Regions from separate parts of the Homo sapiens genome. Here region 1 is linked to region 2. The links are contacts of gene promoters, found by promoter capture Hi-C in human tissues and cell types (Jung and others, 2019). All regions are on one chromosome and are shown on one strand. The core of a region is centred on a gene start or on the middle of the fragment in contact, and the rest is flanking DNA. Distances in the headings are between cores, read along the strand shown.

Region 1 (5,573 bases), core at 152-2,651, 97 kb before region 2:
GGACTGTAGAAGTCCAAGTCAAGGTGTCAGCAAGGTTGGAGCCTTCTAAGGGCTGCAAGGGAAAACTCTGTTCCATGCCTCTCACCTAGCTTCTAGTAGTTTGCTGGGCATCATGCTGATCTCTGCTTTCATTTTCACATGGCATTCTTCCTGTATGACTGCCTGGGTCCAAATTCCTCCCTTTTTTTTTTTTTTTGGGACAGAGTCTCGCGCTGTTGCCCAGGCTGGAGTGCAGTGGCATGATCTCGGCTCGCTGCAACCTCTGCCTCCTACGTTCAAGCAATTCTTGTGCCTCAGCCTCCCCAGTAGCTGGGATTACAGGCACCTGCCACCATGCCTGGCTAATTTTTGTATTTTTAGTAGAGACAGAATTTTGCCATATTGGCCAGGCTGGTCTCAAACCCCTGACCTCAGATGATCCCCCGCCTCGACCTCCAAAAGTGCTGGAATTAGAGGCATGAGCCACCACACCCGGCCGCCTCCTTTTCTTTTTTCTTTTTTATATAGAGATGGGGTCTCACTGTGTTGCCAAGGTTGGTTTTGAACTCCTAGGCTCAAGTGATTCTCCTGTCTCAGCCTCCCAAAGTGCTAAGATTACAGGCATGCGCCACTGCACCCAGCCTCAAATTCTCCCTTTTCAACAAGGACATTAGGGGCCCACCCTACTCCAGTATGACCTCATCTTAACTAATTACATCTGCAATGACACTATTTCCAAATACACTCACATTTTGAGGTCCTGAGGTAGGACTTCAACATATAACTTGGCGGGGGTGGGGGAGGTTCACAATTCAACCCATAACAGGTACTCGATGAAAAATAAACCTCCCGGCTAGTCTCAGTGGCTCACACTTGTAATCCCTGCACTTTGGGAGGCCGAGGTGGGCTGATTGCCTGAGGTCAGAAGTTCAAGACCAACCTGGCCAACATGGTGAAACCCCGTCTCTACTAAAAATACAAAAAAAAAAAAAACAAAAAAAAAACACAAAAAACTAGCCCAGCATGGTGGCACCTATAATCCCAGCTCATTGGGAGGCTGAGGCAGGAGAATCACTTGAACCCAGGAGGCGGAGGTTGCAGTCAGCCGAGATCATGCTACTGCACTCTAACTTGGGTCACAGAGCAAGACTCTGTCTCAAAAAAAAAAAAAAAGAAAAGAAAAGAAAAAGAAACTTCCCTTCCTCTATGCTCCCCAGCTTCCCAGTTCCCTGCTCTAGAGGCAACCAATGTCTCCAGCTTACTGGGTGTTTTTCCAGGGGGTCTCCCATTCATTTACCAACATATATGTGCACGTTCTTCCTACTCGTAAAATGATAGCCATGTGCACTGGCATTCACCTTCCTCTTTTTACTTAACAATGTTCCTGTGAAATTTTCCATATCACTCCACACAGAGCCTCTTTACTCCTTTAAGTGACTGTACAGTACTTCCTAATTTATTGAACTGGTCTCCTATTAATAGATATTTAGATAGTTTCCAATCTTCTGCTATTACAAACAATGCTGCATTGTGTGTGTGTGTGTGTGTGTATATATGTATATATATATATAGAGAGAGAGAGAGAGAGAGAGAGAGACAGAAAGAGAGAGAGAGATTGAGACAGAGACAGACAGACAGGGTCTCACTCTGTTACCCAGGCTGGAGTGCATGGCATGATCTCGGCTCACTGCAACCTCCACCTCCTGGGTTCAAGTGATTCTCCTGCCTCAGCCTCCCAAGTAGCTGGGATTACAGGCGTGCACCACCATGCCTGGCTTATTTTTTTGTATTTTTAGTAGAGATGGGATTTCACCATTGGCCAGGCTGGTCTCAAACTCCTGACCTCAAATGATCCACCTGCCTCAGCCTCCCAAAGTGCTGGGACTACAGGCATGAGCCACCGTGCCTGGCCTTCAGTGTATTTTCTTGTGCACAGGTCATTTTGCAAGAAAGTACGAGTAGGTCTATCAATACCTGGAAGTGGAAGTGCTCCATCATCAGGCCAATGCGTTTTAAAATTTAAGTTATTTTGCCAAATTTGTCTCCAAGGAGGTCAGGGAAGGTCAGCCTCGCACCAGTAGCGTTCAGAGTGCACGTTCCCCATGACTTTTTTTTTTTTTTTTTTTTTTTTTGCCACAGAACAATAGACACCTTTATTCCATGGGCAAAGACAGAAAGGATGAGGATTTATTTGCCTTTCCGGGCCTTGATTTTCCTAAGATAGAACTCCATCTCCTTGCCCCCTGGCACATAGACATGGGCTTGGCCACACTGTCCCAGCCTTGAAGCGACGCATGCAAGAAGCTTGCCCTGCTGGAACTGCTCCCCCAGGAGACGGCTGATTTTGGCATTCTTTTCCCTTTCATCGTATTTCTTCTGAATTTTTTTAGATCGTTTTTTGTTTAAAGTCTTTTCTTCCTCAGGAGTCAGTTTGGCTCCCTTCTTGCAGCCCAGGGGCAGCGCATAGTGGGACTCATACCACTGGTGGTACGGTGTGCTGTCAGTGAGCACGAAGCAGTTCTCCACCAGGGTCTTGGTACGGACCAGCTTGCTATTGGGCGCATCGTAGACAACATCAGTGATCCTTGTTTTGCGAGTACAACACTCTGAACCCCAGGAGAAATTCCCCATGTCCCGCCTCAGGGCACCGTATTTATTGTTACCTCCCCGCACACGGACTGTGTGGATGTGGTGGGGGCCAATCTTGGTGTTGGCAGCCAGGTGCCCCAACTCATACTTCCGCTTCTTGTCGTAGGGCTTTCTCTTGCTGCCAGTCTTGCGGCGCTTGTGCCAGTTGTCCTGAGAGATGCCCATCACTCGGCGCTGGCTGGAAAGAGGCCCCATGATCTTACCGGACCGTGTTAGCTAATGTTCTGATCTTTGCCAATCTGATATATTCCCCTTATGCTTTTAATTTGAATTTCTATTATGATGAGTGTAATTGAGCATCTTTTCTTTTTTTTCTTTTTTTTTTTTTTGAGACAGAGTTTTACTCTTGTTGCCCAGGCTGGAGTACAGTGCGATCTCGGCTCACTGTAACCTCCGCCTTGTGGTTTCAAGCGATTCTCCTGCCTCGGCCTCCCAAGTAGCTGGGATTACAGGCACCCACCACCACTCCTGGCTCATTTTTGTATTTTTACCAGAGACGGGGTTTCACCATGTTGGCCAGACTGGTCTTGAACTCCTGACCTCGTGATCCGCCCACCTCGGCCTCCCAAAGTGCTGGGATTACAGGCGTGAGCCACTGCACTTCGCCCCTGTTGAGCATCTTTTCATGTGTTCAGAGACATTTGGAATTCTCTTCTGCGAACAGTCTGAACCTATCCTTTGCCTGTTTCTCCACTGGGACTAAGGGATAATGAAAATGATTTTTACAGATGCAAAAGGGGTTAAACAAGAGCACCAGGTCGATGTGGGACCCATAACAATGGGGACTGGCATTGAAAAATGGCCTGAGGCATTCTACCTCTGGTCCAGTTGCTTGAGATTTCTGACTGAGGCCCCCCCCTCCCACTCTCGCCTAAGCAGCAGCCAGCTCTGGAACCAAGGGAAAGCCTGGAAATGAAATTGTAGGTTTAGAAATGAAAATTTGAGCTTGGAATGCAAATTGACTGAGAAACCACCAGGCCCCTCCTCTGAGCCTGGTTTATCTCCAGCCTCTGAGGCTGATTTAAGCTTGGTCGGGGATAGAAGGAAGTGAGAGGTAGGAGCTCGCTGCATGACTTAATAGGCTGAGAGGAAGATGAAGATTGAAACAGGTACACATGTCATAAAATGATGGTCAGAGACCAGTGTCAGGAATTTCTTCCAAGGCCACAATATTCTTCTGCCTTGTTCTTTTGTCTTTTCTTCACTGGCTAGGGCTGTGCTAAGTTAAAACCCAAATGGACAGTCATTTCTATCTAAATCCGTTACTGTCTTAGAAGGTGTGGGGCAGTGTTTTCAGGATGGAGAAAGAATCAGGGTTGTGCTTTGGGGATCTCTGCCACCATGTGAATTGCACTCTGAGGTTTAAGTAGGTACCGGTACATGTCTTCTATTGTTTCCAGAAGGTGCACAAAGTTGCTTCCAGAGAGCCTGTTAAATCTCATTCTTCTATTCTTATATGCTTCGAGATTTCTTTTTTTTTTTTTTTTTCGAGAAGGAGTCTTGCTCTGTTGCCCAGGCTGGAGTGCAGTGGCATGATCTCAGCTCATTGCAACCTCCGCTTCCTGAGTTCAAGCAATTCTTCTGCCTCAGCCTCCCAAGTAGCTGGGAGTACAGGCATGCACCACCACGCCTGGCTAATTTTTGTATTTTTAGTAGAGACGGGGTTTCGCCATGTTCGTCAGGCTGGTCTGACCTCATGATCCGCCTACCTCGGCCTCCCAGAGTGCTGGGATTACAGGCGTGAGCCACTGTGCCCAGCCCTCTTCAGGGATTTCTTGAACACCTCCTGACAATAATCCCTCAGCTAGGCTCCATGGAAGCTTTCAAAGACATGGAAGAGCTGATCCATGCCTTCTAAAATGGTAGACTCTAGTTGGGGAGTTAAGGCTTCTGTGATAGTTAATTTTATGTGTCCAGTTGGCCCCAGTACCTAGATGTTTAGTCAAACATTATACTGGATATTTCTGTGAAGACGTTTTCTGGATGGCATTAATTGACTTTTTTTTTTTTTGAAACAGGGTCTTGCTCTGTCATCCAGACTGGAGTGCAGTGGCATGATCTTGGCTCACTGCAACCTCTGCCTCCTGGGTTCGAGCGATCCTCCCACCTCAGCCTCTGAAGTAGCTGAGACTGCAGGCATGCGCCACCATGCCTGGCTAATTTTTTTTTTTTTTTTTTTGTAGTGACAGAGTTTTACTATGTTGGCCCAGGCTGGTCTCAAACTCCTGGGCTCAAGCCATCCACCTGCCTTGGCCTCCCAAAATGCTGGAATTACAGACATGAGCCACCGTGCCCAGCCCAAGATTGACATTTAAATCCGTGGTCTTTGATTCCAATGAAAGATTTATGAAGCGGGAAAAAGGTCTGTGGACTTTAAGTAAAGCAGATTGACCTCCATAGTATGGGTGTGCCTCATCCAATCAGTTGAAGGTCTTCAACAGAACAAAGACAAACCTCCCCAGGTAAGAAGTTCTGTCAGCAGACTGCCCCTGCCCCTTCCCTAAATCACTAGTTTGCCCACCTAACCTGCAGACTTTGGATTTGCACCTCCATAATCTTGTGAGTCAAGTCCTTACAATAGATCTCTCTCTATATTTACACATCCTGTTGGTTCTTTTTCTCTGGGAAACCCTGGCTAATATAACTCCTAACGAATTGCATTATCTTGGTGGTGCTATCTGACATTACCCGAAGGAAGCCTCCAATCAGACAGACCTTGAACAGGAACTAGAGATTTAAGCAAGATTCCAAAGCAAAGTCAAGTTTGACTATATGGAGGAAGAAGGAAGGGCCTTCTGGGTAGGGAAACACATTTGTAAGAGCAAACATATGGAGTTAGGCCCAAGCAGGAGACCAATCTCAGGGTCACAGGTGCTCTATTACCTTTCCCATAGCAGCTGCCACAGTTGCACCTGGACACTTGTTAGTGGCAGTATGTGTTCAAT
Region 2 (6,357 bases), core at 3,358-5,857:
TTGAGACTCCATCTCAAATAAATAAATAAATAAATAAACAAAATTAAAAATAAAAAAATTAATGAATAAATAAATACATACGTACGTACATACATAAGTAGCAGGGTATGGTGGTGCACTCCTGTAGCCCTAGCTACTCAGGAGACTGAGGTAGGGGGACTGCCTGAGCTCAGGAGTTCAAGGCTGCAGTGAGCTATGATCGCAGCACCACACTCCAGCCTGGGCGACAGAACAAGTCCCTGTCTCTAAAAAACAAAACACAAAACTGCAACAGAAATGAAGCCTTATGTATTTTTGTGGCATTAAACCCAGTAGAGATTTCAACTAGTCTCTAATTAGTGATTTTTCTCCCTGATTTAAAAGCACATACACTGCAGAAGTTTGCAAAACAGGAAAATGTAATGAAGAAAAAAGAACCCATTATCCTATTATCTAGAGATATAGTCTAGTAATATTTAGGTGTAATTAACTGCTAGCTTTCTAGGTATAAACATACCGTATTCTCCTCTTCCTCCACACTGAAAATTTTCTCTATATTTGTATCCTGATTTTTCAACGAGAGCTTCGTCTAAGATTCTTTCATCTTTCTCTTTGCACTAGTTTTTTCCACCAAGTTCCAAAGATTCTTCACAGTTTTTTATAACTGTTAAATATTCTATCAGGAGAATATGTTATACCTTAGTCATTCTCTTAGCGGGCATTTTTAGCTACTGTAAATAACCCTGATAAAAGGAAGTGTTATGTTTAATTGTACACGTAAATGTTCGCATCATTTATTGTTTTTCTTTTGGCACAAATTACCAATTATAGAATTATTCACTAGTCCAAGAGGTATAAACATTTTGAAGACTCTTACATGTGTTGTCAAATACATATATTAACACATCTGCTTCTCTTCCTTCTAGAGAGGTTGTAACAATTTACTTTCCCTCCTTCACAGTGTAGTAACAATGTGAACATCAGTGTTACTAACCCTGCCAATTTCCTATAATTGAAAAGAAATCCACTTTTGACTGGCTGTACCATAAAGTTTATCATTTATTAAAACATCATTGTAGGGGGAGTAAGAGTAATTAAAATTCCAGTAATTTTTTGTGTGCCTACATGTGCTGGGCACGATGCCAGATGCTTTTTTGTTTATTGCTATTGAATACCACTTGCTCGGAGTGTAGGTGGACCTCTCCTTGCCCTGTCCCTTGAGGCTACGATGTGTTTGAGGACACATCTGGTGTGTCCACACAGCTGGTTGCTGTTTGGTCAGATTAGTACCCAGGTCTCTTGACTTTAAGTTGGCCACTTATTCATTTTACTATACCTTGTCTGCCTCAACTGGCCTAGAATAGTCTTGTTACATAAATTCTGGTGATGAGAGGCTCTAAAATGTATTCACAGCTTACCAATATTTTAGTTTCTGGGTAGAATGAAAATATTGAACTCCAAAGCCAGTAATCCCTCTGAAATCTTGTGTTACCAGAAGACATCCGGGGCTCTTGCTTCTTGCCTGATGTAAACATCCTTGAACCAAAAGTGAGACCAGCAGGGGAAGAAAGGGGCTAAACCGCTCATCCTCTTCTTCCCCACACTGGCTACCGCAGTTTGTTTGTGAAGGCTTGACTTAGGAGGCTAAGGAGGGAGGATCACTTGAGAGCCCAGAAGTCAGAAATCAGCCTGGACAACATAGTGAAACCTCTGTCTCAAAAAAAAAAAAAAAAAAAAAAAAAAGCTTCAGAAAGTGCATGCTGGAATTACAGGAAAAATGCCATTGGGATGGTGAGCACCTTCAATCCAATGCAAACCACGGTTGGAACTTAATCGTGTGTGTGTGTGTGTGTGTGTGTGTGAGTGTGTGTGTGTATGTGTGTGTGCATTTGGCGAGTTTTAGGAGTTAGGAGGCTTTATACTTTTATACGTGGTCTTTTGCACAATACACTTTGAAAACTGGCTTTTGAACCTTCAGACACTTAAAACAGGTATTTATAGCAATTTCAATGTCCCAGGCAAAAATTTTAAACTGTGCACTTAAACGTTAACCATGCATTTTTTTTTTTTTTTTTTTTGAGATGGAGTCTTGCTCAGTCACCCAGGCTGGAGTGCAATGGCTCGATCTCAGTTCACTGCAAACTCTGCCTCCCGGGTTCAAGCGATTCTCCTGCCTCAGCCTCCTGAGTAGCTGGGATTACAGATGCCTGCCACCGCGCCTGGCTAATTTTGTATTTTTAGTAGAGATGAGGTTTCACCATGTTCGTCAGGCTGGTCTCGAACTCCCGACCTCAGGTGATCCGCCCGCCTTGGCCTCCCAAAGTGCTGGGATTACAGGTGTGAACCACCGCACCCGGCCTTTTTTTCCTTTTTTTGGAGACAGAGTCTTGCTCTGTGGCCCAGGCTGGAGTGCAGTGGTGAGATCTCAGCTCACTGCAACCTCCTCCTTCAGATCTTGGCTCACTGCAACCTCCTCCTCCCAGGCTCAAGTGATTCTTCTGTGTCAGCCTCCTGAGTAGCTGGGATTACAGGCACCTGCCACCAGGCCTGGCTAATTTTTGTATTTTTAGTACAGATGGGGCTTCACCATGTTAGCCAGGCTGGTCTTGAACTCCTGACCTCAGGTAATCCGCCTGCCTCTGCCTCCCAAAGTGCTGGGATTACAGACGTGAGCCACAGCGCCTGGCCCTAACTATGCATCTTAATTTTTGTACTTACTCTCTGATGTGCTAACAGGACAGTAAAAGTGATTTAAGGCTGTTATATTTTCCCTTTATTTAAGAGATGCCTGGGGTTCTTAGCTCAGGAGGGATTCATAGCATGTCTTAAGCCACACCAGTGTTTTTCAGGACACGCTAGGGTGGACTTGGCAACTAGCAAAACACTGAGCTGCTGTGCCTAACTTTTACCCCTGTGTGCCAGTGTGCTTATTTCCTGTCTTAGGATTACTTGTAATTTGGTCTCGGGGAAGTTTTCTGGGTGAGTGCGTTGCACCAATTCCCTTATTGTTTTAAGAACGCAGTGACCTCACTTGGATCCAGGACTCTGCCAGCATTTAAAATCCCGCTCTTACGAAAGGTGAAACTCTTGCCTATAGTTAAGTATCACAGCTTGATCCCATTACAATGAGATGGAAGTTTGTCTGGGCCCGGAGTAGGCCAACAACAGCAGTTTTAAAAGCAGAACTCCCCGCGCTGGGTCTAACCCTGTTCTTGGTCACCGCGTTCGCTTCAGGAGCCTGGAAATCCTCTTTTGGCAGCAGAAGGGGGAGAGTGCTTGGAAATGCTCGGAGGAAAACGACTTTTGGAGGGGGAATAGCGGGGAGGGAAACAACAAGCAACCACCGGCCACACTTGGGGTGCAACTGGGGCTGTGGGGTGGGTAGAGGGAGAGGGAAAGTGAGCAGAACTGGAAGCTCAGAATAGAAGATACAAAAGAAAGTGCCAAGTAGTGAAAAAAACTGCAAAAGGACGGGGGGATGGGGGGAGGGCGACTGGGGAACGGTTTGGAAAAATAGCAATTAGTACAGCTAAAAATAAAGACCAATTTAGAGACAAAGCCAGATACACAAGGAGAAAAATAAAACTCGCCAGAAAGACAATTTCTTGCAAACCAAATGTTCAAGAAAATGGGGGCTAATGACATCCCCTCTGGGGCTGCTCCATAGAAGAAATGAAATAATAGGAGACCGTAGAGCGCGCAGCGCCCAGCAGGTGACGCCGTGGGGGCTTGAGTGGTCCCGGTCGTGGAGCCTGAAGGCCCTGCCAGAGGCAGTGCCCACGTGTCCCCAAAGTTAGAGAAGTGTCCCGAGAGCGCGGTGTGCGGGACAGAGCACCGCCCGGCGCAGGAACCGGGGGGTTCCTGCAGAATCCTCTCAGATCTCCCCGAGTCCTGGCGCCCGCGCGGCACGGCCGGGGAGAGGGCGCCCACCCGCGGCGGCTCGGCTAGCTCAGCGCACGGGCCCTGGGGACGCCCCACCCGCATTCGCGGGGCGGGAAGGCGCAGCGCCCACGAAGTCGAGGAGCAGCCAGGCCCCAGCAGGCGGGGATCCTGGTGACGAGGAGGCAAAGGCCACAGGCTGGGCCGCGCCCGGACTCTGCAGAACCGCGAGGCCTAGGCTTCCCAGCCTGTGACCCGGGAGGGGACCCCGCCCGCCACCTGCGAAGGCTCGCTGAGAGCCCCGAAGCGCGGTGCGCCCGCGGCGCCGTGCCAGTTTCTCCGGGGCTACAGGGAGAAGGCGGGAGACCGCGATGGGCCCGGGAGCTTGAAGCTGGGCGGGGCGGGCCGGGGCGGCATCTCAGGCGAGGGCCAGGGACCCCGGGACGCGCTAACCGCCTCCGCGGGGCTACTAAGTTCCCGGCGGCGCGGGCTCCCTCTGGGCCAGTGCACCTTATCCCAGGCGCGGGGCACACTCTGGGCGATCGGGGGTCACCCGGGGCTGCCCTGCCCTGCCCCGCCCGGGCACCCCGGAGCGGAACCGCGAGTCCTCACCAGCGGGGGCGGGCAGGGCGCACTGAGCGCGCCACGCGGCGCCTGGCTAGGAGGAGGGCGGCGGGCGGGGACCTAGAGCTCCGGGGCGGTGCTGAGCCCGCTCCTCCTCCTTGCCCTCCTCCTCCTCCTCCTCGCCCTCCTCCTCCTCCTCGCCTTCCTCCGGCTCAGCCGCCGCGCCGCCGGGCTGCTCCTTCTTCCTCCTCGGGCGCCCGCGGCGATGTTCAACCGCGCCGTGAGCCGGCTGAGCAGGAAGCGGCCGCCGTCAGGTAAGCGGCTTCGGGGGCCCGCGGGCTCGGGGTCGGGGCGCCGTTTCGCCCGCCCGGCCTCCTGCCCTCCCTCTTGTGCTCGGGCGCGGCTCGGTGGTACCTCCCAGACTGGAGCCCCGGCCGACCGCACCACCTCTCCCCGCTGGGTACCGCACCTTCGCGGTCCCAGCCGCGACGGGAGCGCAGAGCTCCTCCGGGAGCCCCGGGGAGGAAGTTTGGCTGAAAGAGGAACAGCCGCAGTTTTCTTTTTAGTGATGGTCTGGGAGAAAAAGGAGCGCCCCAAATCTCCAAACTTTGGAGGTGACATGGGGCTCCAGATTCCGAAAGCGGAACGGCGCGCGGGCTTCTCCCTCCGTGACGCTCTCCGCCTCCGCTGCGGGCGTGGGTGGAAGGATGCCGAGCGCCCGGGGGAGCACGGCTGGACCCGGGCATCCGACTGGGCCCCTGGGCCTGGGGCGTCGGGGGCCTTCGCTTCTGCCGCGAGGAGCCAAAAGGTGGGATCGCGAGGGTGGCGGAACCCCAGGATGGAGAAGGGCACTTCTGCGGTCCGAGCCAGCGAAGTTCTGACGTTACGAAGGATTCGCCTTGGCCGTCACTTTGGGCCAGCCTGAGCCACGATCTCGGGCAACTTGATAGGCCAAAGACCCCACGGTGAAGGTGGAGCCGTGCCCTTGATTCCGGTCCTTCCACCCTTTTGCTCATCACAATAGCTACGACCTGTGCAGGCCTTTGGGTGCGCCAAGGGCTTTGTCCACCGCGTTGGGTGAACTCTCCCTTCACCCCTAGGACAACCCGGTGAGTGAGGAGGGAGCGGAAGCCAGGCGCTGTTAGGTAACTTGCCCCAGTCACACTCCGCAGGTGATGGGGAGGCTTTCAAACCCAGGTTCCCCTGACTCTGAAGTTCGGGGGCTTTGCCGGGCTTCCCACGCCAAGATTCACTTCTGCTTGGCGCTCAGAGTCCCAACGCGTTGGTGCATTTCCTTTCTGCTCCTGGTATTTTATGAGGGACATTGTGGTTTAGAGACTGGGACCAGACTGGCTGGATCCGAATCTCACCTTCGCCATATTCACCAGCCGTGGGACCTTTCTGCAGAATGAGGTTCTGCACAGTGGGAATAACAGTAGCTACTCGCCTTTTAAAGTACTTAATTGGAACCTGTCTTCCATCCATCAGGTTTTGCAAATTATTGTATTTAATATGTAGGATTTCATAGGGTTGTTGTAATGATCTTACATTGTTGCCCGGCAAGTACTAAGTGCTCCGTTAGCGTTAGTGGTCATGTAAACCTTTTTGTGTTGCATGTGAGTCAAAGAATTCCCTTGTGGGTGTTAATGTTAACCAGTCTCTATGGTTGGCACAGGCCTGTGGAGCGCTGCTCAGAGCCTGGACTCGAATTAAACTCTTGGTTCTAACCTTGACTCTGTCATTCAGCAACACTGGGCAAATTACTTGATCTCTCTGTGCCTCCGTTTCAGTGATGTGCTGGAGCTGGCTCAAACTGGCTTGCAAGAGCCAGTTGCCAAATATTCAAAAAGTTTGGAAACTGGTTGTAAACCATAGGTAGCTTGAAAGTAGTTATGATGGGATATTTACATCATGAAAATCAACAAAGCTAAAAAT

The links. The method cuts DNA at HindIII sites, captures the fragments that hold promoters and counts their contacts. A contact is called where the count stands out against the background at its distance.
Region 1: a contact is called between a fragment that was not itself captured here and the fragment with the promoter of RGS10 in region 2, in 2 of the 25 tissues and cell types used here (spleen and stomach).

Annotation. Positions count from the first base shown.
Region 1 is chr10:119,635,676-119,641,248 of GRCh38, reverse strand. It overlaps the pseudogene RPS8P4. Among named protein-coding and RNA genes, the nearest start is that of BAG3, 13 kb to the left of the region's middle. RefSeq lists a silencer at 4,122-4,345. The HindIII fragment of the contact is 5,300 bases long and covers 1-4,051 here.
Region 2 is chr10:119,540,969-119,547,325 of GRCh38, reverse strand. RGS10 (regulator of G protein signaling 10) reads left to right here and starts at 4,607. Exons shown (of 5, transcript NM_001005339.2): 1 at 4,607-4,736. The coding sequence starts at 4,688. RefSeq lists enhancers at 2,844-3,352, 3,615-3,694 and silencers at 3,905-4,064, 4,115-4,184, 4,195-4,934, 4,985-5,154. The HindIII fragment of the contact is 18,481 bases long and covers 1-6,357 here.